Linked DNA regions of Homo sapiens: region 1 is linked to region 2. The links are contacts of gene promoters, found by promoter capture Hi-C in human tissues and cell types (Jung and others, 2019). All regions are on one chromosome and are shown on one strand. Each heading gives the region's core, a stretch centred on a gene start or on the middle of the fragment in contact. The rest is flanking DNA. Distances are from core to core; before and after follow the strand shown.

Evidence for each region. The method cuts DNA at HindIII sites, captures the fragments that hold promoters and counts their contacts. A contact is called where the count stands out against the background at its distance.
Region 1: a contact is called between the fragment with the promoter of PELP1 here and the fragment with the promoter of SPAG7 in region 2, in 2 of the 25 tissues and cell types used here (dorsolateral prefrontal cortex and liver).

The regions. Positions count from the first base shown.
Region 1 is chr17:4,702,797-4,707,367 of GRCh38, reverse strand. It overlaps PELP1 (proline, glutamate and leucine rich protein 1), which reads left to right and starts at 3,231. Exons shown (of 17, transcript NM_014389.3): 1 at 3,231-3,505. The coding sequence starts at 3,257. PELP1-DT (PELP1 divergent transcript) reads right to left here and starts at 3,138. Exons shown (of 2, transcript NR_103482.1): 1 at 2,998-3,138; 2 at 1,839-2,169. It also overlaps the pseudogene RPS12P29. The HindIII fragment of the contact is 43,472 bases long and covers 1-4,571 here.
Region 2 is chr17:4,964,585-4,969,479 of GRCh38, reverse strand. SPAG7 (sperm associated antigen 7) reads left to right here and starts at 1,663. Exons shown (of 7, transcript NM_004890.3): 1 at 1,663-1,760. The coding sequence starts at 1,676. It overlaps CAMTA2 (calmodulin binding transcription activator 2), which reads left to right. Exons shown (of 23, transcript NM_015099.4): 21 at 143-330; 22 at 499-573; 23 at 661-1,483. The coding sequence ends at 724. It overlaps LOC124900387 (a long non-coding RNA gene), which reads left to right and starts at 1,767. Exons shown (of 2, transcript XR_007065587.1): 1 at 1,767-3,079; 2 at 3,161-3,658. RefSeq lists enhancers at 1-585, 1-618, 586-1,263, 1,264-1,940, 1,528-2,027 and 2 more and a silencer at 1,438-1,517. The HindIII fragment of the contact is 4,607 bases long and covers 1-4,249 here.

The DNA of each region.
Region 1 (4,571 bases), core at 1,982-4,481, 260 kb after region 2:
CCAGCTACTCGTGAGGCTGAGCCAGAAGAATCACTTGAACCTGGGAGACGGAGGTTGCAGTGAGCTGAGATCGTGCCGTTATACTCCAGCCTGAGTGAGAATAGTGAAACTTCGTCTCAAAAACAAACGGGCCGCGCGTGGTGGCTCACGCCTGTAATCCCAGCACTTTGGGAGGCTGAGGTGGGCGGATCACGAGGTCAGGAGATCAAGACCATCCTGGCTAACGTGGTGAAACCCTGTCTCCACAAAAAAGTACAAAAAATTAGCCGGCATGGTGGCAGGCGCCTGTAGTCCCAGCTACTTGGGAGGCTGAGGCAGGAGAATGGCCTGAACCTGGGAGGCAGAGCTTGCAGTGAGCCAAGATCGCGCCACTGCACTCCAGCCTGGGTGACAGTGCGAAACTCCATCTCGAGGAAAAAAGAAAACAAAAAACCTCCGAAAAACGAAAAATGAGCCAAATATAGTGGCTAGTGCCTAGAGTCTCATGTACTAGGGAGGCTGAGGTGGGAGGATCGTTTGAGCTGGGAGGTCAAGGCTGCAGTGAGCTGTGATCATGCCACTGCACTCCAGCCTGGGGAAATATTTTTTCAGCACCTTTTATGTACCAGGCACTGTTCTAGGTGATAGGAATAGCATAGTGTAGGAGACAGGAGCCCTTTCATGGAGTTTGTATTTTAGACAAGAGATAGTTAATAAGAAAGCAAATTTCTGGTAATGACATGAATTATAAACAGGCAAATGTGATGGAGGCTGATGGGGGTTGGAGTGGGAGCTACCGAAAAAGAAGTCGTCTCAGGATGGCAAAATGGCGTTAGTTACATAGAATCAAAGGACAGTTTCTCCAGCATAATCAGCAACATGTGCAAAGGTTCGGATGTGAGAATGGGCTTTGCTGGAAAATAGAAGGCTAGCGTGGCTCAAGAATAGGAAGAGAGAAGGAAAAGGGTACTTGTGGTATGTGTTGAGGTCAGGGAGGTGGGTATGAGTCAGATTGGGTGGATTCTTTTAGGCCTCAGTGACGAGATGGGATTTCATTCTCATCACATTTGGAAGCCACAGAGGGGTTGAAGCTAGGAGTGACAACAACTTGTTTACATTTGAAAAGACCACTTTGGTTGCTGTGTGAAGGGACTACAGGGTGCTAAGAGGGAAGCAGAGAGCAACGAAGGCTTTGTAATAGACTAGGTGAGAGTGAATGGTAATTTGGACCGGAGCGGCAGTGGAGATGGAGAAAAATTAACGCTATTGGGTTAATGTATTTTGGAGGCCTTGAATGCCAGGACTTGAAGGATTGGATAGGAGGCAATAAGAGGAAAAACGGGCCAGGTGGGGTGGCTCACACCTGTAATCCCAGGACTTTGGGAGGCTGAGGCCGGCAGATCACTTGAGGTCAGGAGTTTGAGACCAGCCTGGCCAACATGGTGAAGCCCCGTCTCTACTAAAAATACAAAAATTAGCTGGGCATGGTGGTGGGTGCCTGTACTTCCAGCTACTTGGGAGGCTGAGGTAGGAGAATCACTTGAACTTGGGAGGCGGAGGTTGCAGTGAGCCGAGATCGTGCCATTGCACTCTAGCCTGGGCGACAGAGAGACTCCTCAAAAAAAGAAAAATGATGACTCTTGGATTTGAATCTAACAATCACAAAAGTACACAAACATAAACATAGAGGTATTAGCGTGTTCACTACAGTTTGCATTAGCAAAAAGCTGGAGCAGCCTTTAAGCATTAATTCAGCAATAGAATTATTAAATCATGGTGCACCCATTTCATTCATACCACAGTTTAAAAAACAGCATAAAGAAGGCCATGAGTGAAAACAAGCCACACGCAGACCCCAATCTTGTAAAATATTCATTTATGTGCTTGTGCATAGACTAATATTAGGAAAGTATACACGCTACTGGGGCAGGGCTTTGCGGGGGAGGAGCAGTTTTTCTTTTTACTTTATGCCTTTCTGTACTGTTTGAATTGGCTTTTGCAAGGCGCACGTCTTGTATCATTTCTGAAGTTGCAAATGTAGTTAAAAATGTCTGTGATTTCAAGTTACCTAGAGAGTTATTGATTCCTTCTCTTTCCCTGCCGCTGCCGAGTTGCGCGGAGGCGGAGGCTTGGGTACCTTCAAGATTCAGCTTCACTTGTAACCCACCGCCACGGCCGAGGAAGGCATTGCTGCTGGAGGGGTAATGGATGTTAATACTGCTTCACAAGAGGTGCTGAAGACCGCTCTCATCCACCATGACCTAGCACGTGGAATTCGCGAAGCTGCCAAAGCCTTAGACAAACGCCAAGCCCATCTTTGTGTGCTTGCATCCAACTATGATGAGCCTACTATGTATGTCAAGTTGGTGGAGGCCTTTGTGCTGAACACCAAATCAACCTAATTAAGGTTGATGACAACAAGAAACTAGGAGAATGGGTAGGGCTCTGTAAAAATCGACAGAGAGGGGAAACCCCGTAAAGTGGTTGGTTGCAGTTGTGTAGTAGTTAAGGACTATGGCAAGGAGTCTCAGGCCAAGGATGACATCGAAGAGTACTTGAAATGCAAGAAATGAAGAAATAAATCTTTGGCGCGCGTACACACACACACACGTTACTGATTCCTAGGCAGGGTGCGGTGGCTCATGCCTGTAATCTCAGCACTTTGGGAGGCCAAGGCGGGCGGAACACCTGAGGTCAGGAGTTCAAGACCATCCTGGCCAACATGGTGAAACCCCATCTCTACAAAAATACAAAAAAAATTAGCCGGGCGTGGTGGCGCGCGACTGTAATCCCATCTACTCGGGAGGCTGAGGCAGGGAAATCGCTTGAACCTGGAAGGTGGAGGTTGCGGTGAGCCGAGATCGCGCCACTGCACTCCAGCCTGGGCCACAGAGCGAGACTCCGTCTCAAAAAAAAAAAATGAGAGTTATTGATTCCTACAGCGAAGATGTCCCAAGACTCCGTCCGCTAAATGGAAATCGTTCCGACTTTGGCGCCTTTTGTCCGGACCACGTGTACCTTTAACATCACAGGACCGCCTCGGACACGCTCACAGGCAGCCTCATCCGCCATCACTCCGGGAACCGAGCACCCCGCTGCCTCGGCGCCCAGGCTGCTCTCTCCGCGCATGCTCCTTCCCAGCTTGAGCCCGCGAGTCCAGCCTGCCTTCACTCAGTGCGCAAGACCGCAGCCCCCTCCCCACGCCCCCTCCCCAGTAGGCGGCCGTCGCGGTGTGTTTGCGTCATCGCGCCACGCCACCACTGGAACCCGGGGGAAGATGGCGGCAGCCGTTCTGAGTGGGCCCTCTGCGGGCTCCGCGGCTGGGGTTCCTGGCGGGACCGGGGGTCTCTCGGCAGTGAGCTCGGGCCCGCGGCTCCGCCTGCTGCTGCTGGAGAGTGTTTCTGGTTTGCTGCAACCTCGAACGGGGTCTGCCGTTGCTCCGGTGCATCCCCCAAACCGCTCGGCCCCACATTTGCCCGGGCTCATGTGCCTATTGCGGCTGCATGGGTCGGTGGGCGGGGCCCAGGTGAGTCCGTGGCCCGCGTGCCCGCGGCCCTGTGGGGAGGATGGCGCGGCACCTGTGCGCCGGGATTACGGTGCAGTGCAAGTGCGATAGGGAGGTTGAAGGAAGGAGAGCTGCGGGCAGAAAGGGGATCCAGGTATCAGTCCGGACGGGATGCACGTATTTCTCCTTTATCGGCCATGAGTTTCTCCAGGGGAAAAATGGGCCTTATTTTTCTGTTGTTAGGCTATTGGTCGGCACACAGGAATCGATTAGGTTCCAGGCCCGGTCACTCACTAGTTGTATAATCTAAAAGTCTCTTTTTCCTCTGGCAATATCTGTTTCGGGGATTGTTTCGACTGACTGAATGACGCATTCAACAATAAACATTTACCGAGCTCTTATTGAGGGTCAGATACTGTACTAGGCGCTCCGGTTACAGACGTGGTGGCGATACACAAAATGCTGCGAAACAAGATGAGAATTGAATATCAGGGGTCTCTAACCTTATCTGAAGACTGGCAGAGATTTTTCCAAAGAAACCGGCGTTTAAGCTGAGACCCTAAGGATGAATAGGGGTTGGGTAGGGAAAAAATATGGGAGGGGCTGTTCAGTCAGAGGAGAGCTCATGTGGGAAGACCCTGTGGTAGGAAGGAACTGGAAAGAAGGGCATCGTTCCTGGGGCTCAGATGTGGAGGGGAAGAGAGTGGGTACAGATGAGACTGGTGAGATGGGTAGGCAGTGGTCGGGTCATGCAGAGCGTTTTAGGCCGGGTTAGGAGCCTTTGGACTTCTATAAGAATGGAATCTGATAACCATTCAGTTCTGCAAGCTAGACACTCAAGTAATTCTAAACTCTTCTTCATACACCTCCATAAGCAATCTGTCAAGTCCTGTTGATTTTATCCTTTGAGTAGTTTTCAGATCTGTCCACTCTTTTCCATCTTTCTCATTGCTCCCATTCTAGCTTGAACCCCCACCATCTTGTCCGGGTGAAGGCACTGATTCTAAGAAGGCATATTTCTAGCCCATAATAGCTGCTCCTTATAACAATCTCCTATCTTCCCTTCTCTCCCACTAAACCTCCCCCA
Region 2 (4,895 bases), core at 414-2,913:
GTGTGAGGTCTGTGATGATTCAGTCTTTCCTTGAGTGTGTGGGTTACAGAGAGTCTTGCATCAGCCTAACTTGGGTGAGCCTCAGGGCTTTGGGTCTCCGTCCCTCTATTTCAGCCCCTGTCCCTCCTCCCCACCCCTGCAGTTTGCACTCTATAAGAAGATGACCCAGGCGGCCATCCTGATCCAGAGCAAGTTCCGAAGCTACTATGAACAGAAGCGATTTCAGCAGAGCCGCCGAGCGGCTGTGCTCATCCAGCAGCACTACCGCTCCTACCGCCGCAGGCCCGGCCCTCCCCACCGGACTTCGGCCACCCTGCCTGCCCGCAACAAGTAGGGCCCAGCCCCAGCCCTCTGTGCCCACCCACTGCATCCACGCCATTCCCCCTTACTCATCCTCTTGATCATCATGCCTCACTGCCATTCCCTGCCTAGGGTTCCTGGGGGGGCCGAAGGCATGCGATGCCTTCTGTGAGGTCCATCTTTTGTTTCTTTCACCAGAGGCTCCTTTCTCACCAAGAAGCAGGACCAGGCAGCCCGGAAGATCATGAGATTCCTGCGGCGCTGCCGACACAGGTACTCATCCCTTCTCCCCCTGGGCTTTTGCGTTGCCACCCGTCGTGATCCGCCAGTCTCCTCTGACTCCTATCTTTCTCTCTGCAGGATGAGGGAACTGAAGCAGAACCAGGAGCTGGAAGGGCTTCCCCAGCCGGGACTGGCCACATGACCTGGCCACCGCCTTTCTCACCACCCTGGGGGCGCCTCGTGCAGTCTTAACAGGGAGAGGGCTTTCTGGGGCAGGGGGAGCCCCTGTCGGCAGCTTTCCTGTTCACCTTTGTTGGAGCCCTCTGTAGGCCTCCTCCCTCCTCCCCACGCCTTGCTCCCACACCCCTCTCCTCGTCCCTCCTGGTCGTGCCCCGTCTCTTTTGGTCCTGGCTCCAGAAAACCCGCGCCCCACATACCTGCATCTTCCGCTGTGACCTCCGGAGCCCTGCCTGCCCCTGCTCCCCAGCTCCTCCTGCCTGCACCCGACTCGGCCCCCTCCTGACTTGCCTTATTTATTTGTTCGACGCGTCTCTGAATGTATCCGCCTCGGTTCCCACCACTGCCTTCGCTGCGCACGCCCCTCGTGTTTCAGGGCTGACCGTGTCCCCACCCGACTCCGCATGTTTGCGTCTGTTTCCTCCCTCTCTGGCCCTGTCTTACCCCATCACCCGACTCTGGCCACTGACCTCAGGGCCGAAGGGGAGGTGGTGTACATAGGAACGCGTTGCGGAGTCCGCCCCGTCCCCCGAGGGGAGGGGTCTTGTACATACTGTAACATACAGAGTATAGTGAAGAATCTATTTAAGGCGCCGCGGGGAGGGCTGCACGGCCGGGCTTGTGGTTCTCTAGCGCGGCGGGGGCCTCCTGCCGGCTCCACGGGCACTTTCTACTTGTGCATGGGCTTGGTTTATACGAATTGCCATTAAACATCGCTGCACCAGCCAGCCTCCGGCCTCTGTCTGCGGGGGCGGGGCGGGGCCTAGGCCAGCTGGAGGCCGCCATGCACCGCGGGCCTGGGATCTGCGCCCAGGCCAGGCGGGCCCAGGGTTTTCCGCCTCCGACGTGTTTCCGGCCTTAAAGGCATTCCGCCCTTCCCTTTAAGACGCACCGCCCCCTCTCAGTCACTCCCAAGATGGCGGACCTACTGGGCTCCATCCTGAGCTCCATGGAGAAGCCACCCAGCCTCGGTGACCAGGAGACTCGGCGCAAGGCCCGAGGTGAGGATCCCAAATTCACAACCGCCTTCCTTCGCCCGGTTCTCGGGACCATACTTCTCCCTCTTTGGACGATGCCGCCTCCTCAACCTTGAAAGACCCCTCACAGGCCCCTTCCGAGACCCTCAGAGTCCCTAAAAGGGCTGCTGACACGCCCGCTGTTCTTAGCGGACAGTGATTGGCTACCTGAAAGATAGCGCCAGCCTCCTGCCTCTTCTCCCGACCCTGGCCTTCCGCAGTCCTTGTTTCCCATTAGCCGGCCGTCCCGCCTGTCCGCTGCTGACCTGGTCTGATTGGTAGGGTGCCTCCAACCTGCCGCATTCCTGCCCCGCTCACCTCTAGCTCTATTTCGATTGGATTTAGGACACGCCATCTACTGTGCCTTCATCTCTATTGGCTATCTCAACTTAAAGCTCTGCCTCCTCAGGCCTGTTCGACCTTCCTTCGAAACCACCCCAGCCTGCGAATTCCCATTGGTTGCAGGGTCCTCTGTGTGTTCTTGCCCCTCCTGCTTAATTTAACCCAGTCCCTTCTGCCTCCCTCCGACAACCTTTTTCCCATCCGTAGCCTTAAATTCCCGAGCTGCCCGGGCGGATCGTAGTGTTGATTGGAGGGATGAGAATACCCGCCGGGTCCGATTGGCCACTGTCTCCGCCTGCGTTCTCGGAGTAGCTTCCCTGCGGGTGGGCTGGAGTTCGGCGGCCGGCGTAGGGCGCGGCCCTGCAGGGCGGTGGGAGCCTCCCCGGGGCTGCTCGTGTTGCAGCTTGGGATGATACTGGCGGAACGCAGGACCCCAACTCCCAAACCTGCGGACCTTGACCACGGACGAGCCCTGTCCCAGCTCCCCACGTGCCCCAGGGGGACCAGAGCAGGCAGGACGCCTTCCAAGTATTCAAGGGCCGCTGGTTGCCTACGCTTCGTCCCCTTGTTTCTTGAACAACCGTTAGGGACCAGGGGTACCCCTCAGGGAGGCCACAGTCCGGGGCTGGGGCGCTCATTGATGCAGTGATCACACGTAAGTTTAATAACCAACTTGATAAGTGCTCTGAGAGAAAAATAACTGTGAGAGCGGCCACCTGAGGTTCTCCCCCAATCTGCAGTGAGCCGAGATCAGAACAGGTAATTCCGTAAATGAGAGAGAGAAGCAAAGCGTTACAGGCAGAAGAGTCTATTTGAAATCTCTGAGAAAGGAGGAAGCATGATGGGAATGGGGAACTGGAATTCTCTAATGCTCCGATGACTGTCTAAGTGGGGGATCACCCGGCATTGACAGACTGGGAAGCTTAAATGAGTCACTCGCCTGAGGTCACATGGTTAGTTTGGTAAGTGGCAGGGTTTCAAACCCAGGTATGACTGGGCTCGAAGCCTATGTTCTTGACCATAATCTTGTGCCACTTCTCTAGATGCAGAGAAGACTCGAAAACCAGTTAAAGAACAGTCAGTGGGGCCCGGCCTTGTAGCTCACACCTTTAATACCACCACTTTGGGAGGCCGCGGCGGACGGATCGCTTGAGCCCAGGAGTTCAAGACCAGTCTGGGCAACATGGAGAAACCCCATCTCTACAAAAAATACAAAAATTGGCCGGGCTCACGCCTGTAATCCCAAAACTTTGGGAGGCCAAGGCGGGCAGATCACGAGATCAAGAGATCGAGAGCATCCTGGCCAACATGGTGAAACCCCGTCTCTACTAAAAATACGAAAATTAGCTGGGCGTGGTGGCGCGTGCCTGTAGTCCCAGCTACTCAGGAGGCTGGGGCAGGAGAATCAGTTGAACCCAGGAGGAGGAGGTTGCAGTGAGCCGAGATTGCGCCACTGTACTCCAGCCTGGCGACAGAGCGAGACTCCGTCTCATAAATAAATAAATAAATAGATAAATAAATAAATAAATAAATAAACATTAGCTGGGCTTGGTGGCGCGCTCCTATGGTCCCAATTCTCGGGAGGCTGAGGTGGGAGAATCGCTTGAGTCTGGGAGGTTGAAGCTGCAGTGAGAGGTGATTGCGCCACTGCACTCCATTTTGGGCGATGAAGTTGAGACTGTTTCCAACAACAAAAGATGAAATGCGCTGATGGTCAGTGAGGACAGAGGGATGAGAGCTCATAAGCTGTCAGGCCCTGGGGCTCCAGAGGATAACTGAACAGTAGATCAACAGGGTCCCTGCCCTCCAGGAGCTCATACTATGCTGAAGGAGACAAAAAAAAAAGAAGTTATGATACGTTAGTTCTCTGTCTATGCTGCTGGGTGTCTCAGCCAAAGGAGCTTGGAGCCCAGGGGAAGAAGTAACTGACTCACGGTAGATCTCAATGTTTGCAAGAGGAGGAAAAGCATTCCAAGCAGAGGAACAACGTGTGCAAAGGCATGGAGTTATTTGAAAAATGGGGAGAGGGCTCATGCCTATAATCCCAGCACTTTGGGAGGCTGAGGCGGGCAGATCACTTGAGGTCAGGAGTTCAAAACCAGGCTGGCCAACATGGCGAAACATCGTCTCTACGAAAAATACAAAAAAATGGGCGGGCGTGGTGGCTCACGCCTGTAATCCCAACACTTTGGGAGGCTGAGGCGGGCGGATCACCTGACGTCGGGAGTTCGAGACCAGCCTGACCAACATGGAGAAGAAAGCCCATCTCTACTAAAAATGAAAAAATTAGCCAGGTGTAGTGGCACATGCCTGTGATCCCAGCTACTCGGGAGGCTGAGGCAGGAGAATCACTTGAACCCGGGAGGCAGAGGTTGCAGTGAGCCAAGATTGCACCATTGCACTCCAGCCTGGGCAAAGAGAGCGAAACTCCATCTCAAAAAAAGAAAAAGAAAAAAAAAATTAGCCGGGTGTGGTGGTTCACACCTGTAATCCCAGCTACTCGGGAGGCTGAGGCATGAGAATCACTGGAACCCGGGAGGCAGAGGTTGCAGTGAGCCGAGATCGCGCCACTGCACTCCAGCCTGGGCACACAGCGAGACTCTGTCTCGAAATAAATAAATAAATGATGGGGAGAGGTTCAGTGCAGCTGGAGAGGATTCAGATCCTGGGGAAGAAGGAGGCCTTAAAGATGTAAAGGATTTGGCCGGGTGCGGTGGCTCACGCCTATAATCCCAGCACTTTGGGAGGCCGAGGCGGGTGGATCATGAGGTCAGGAGA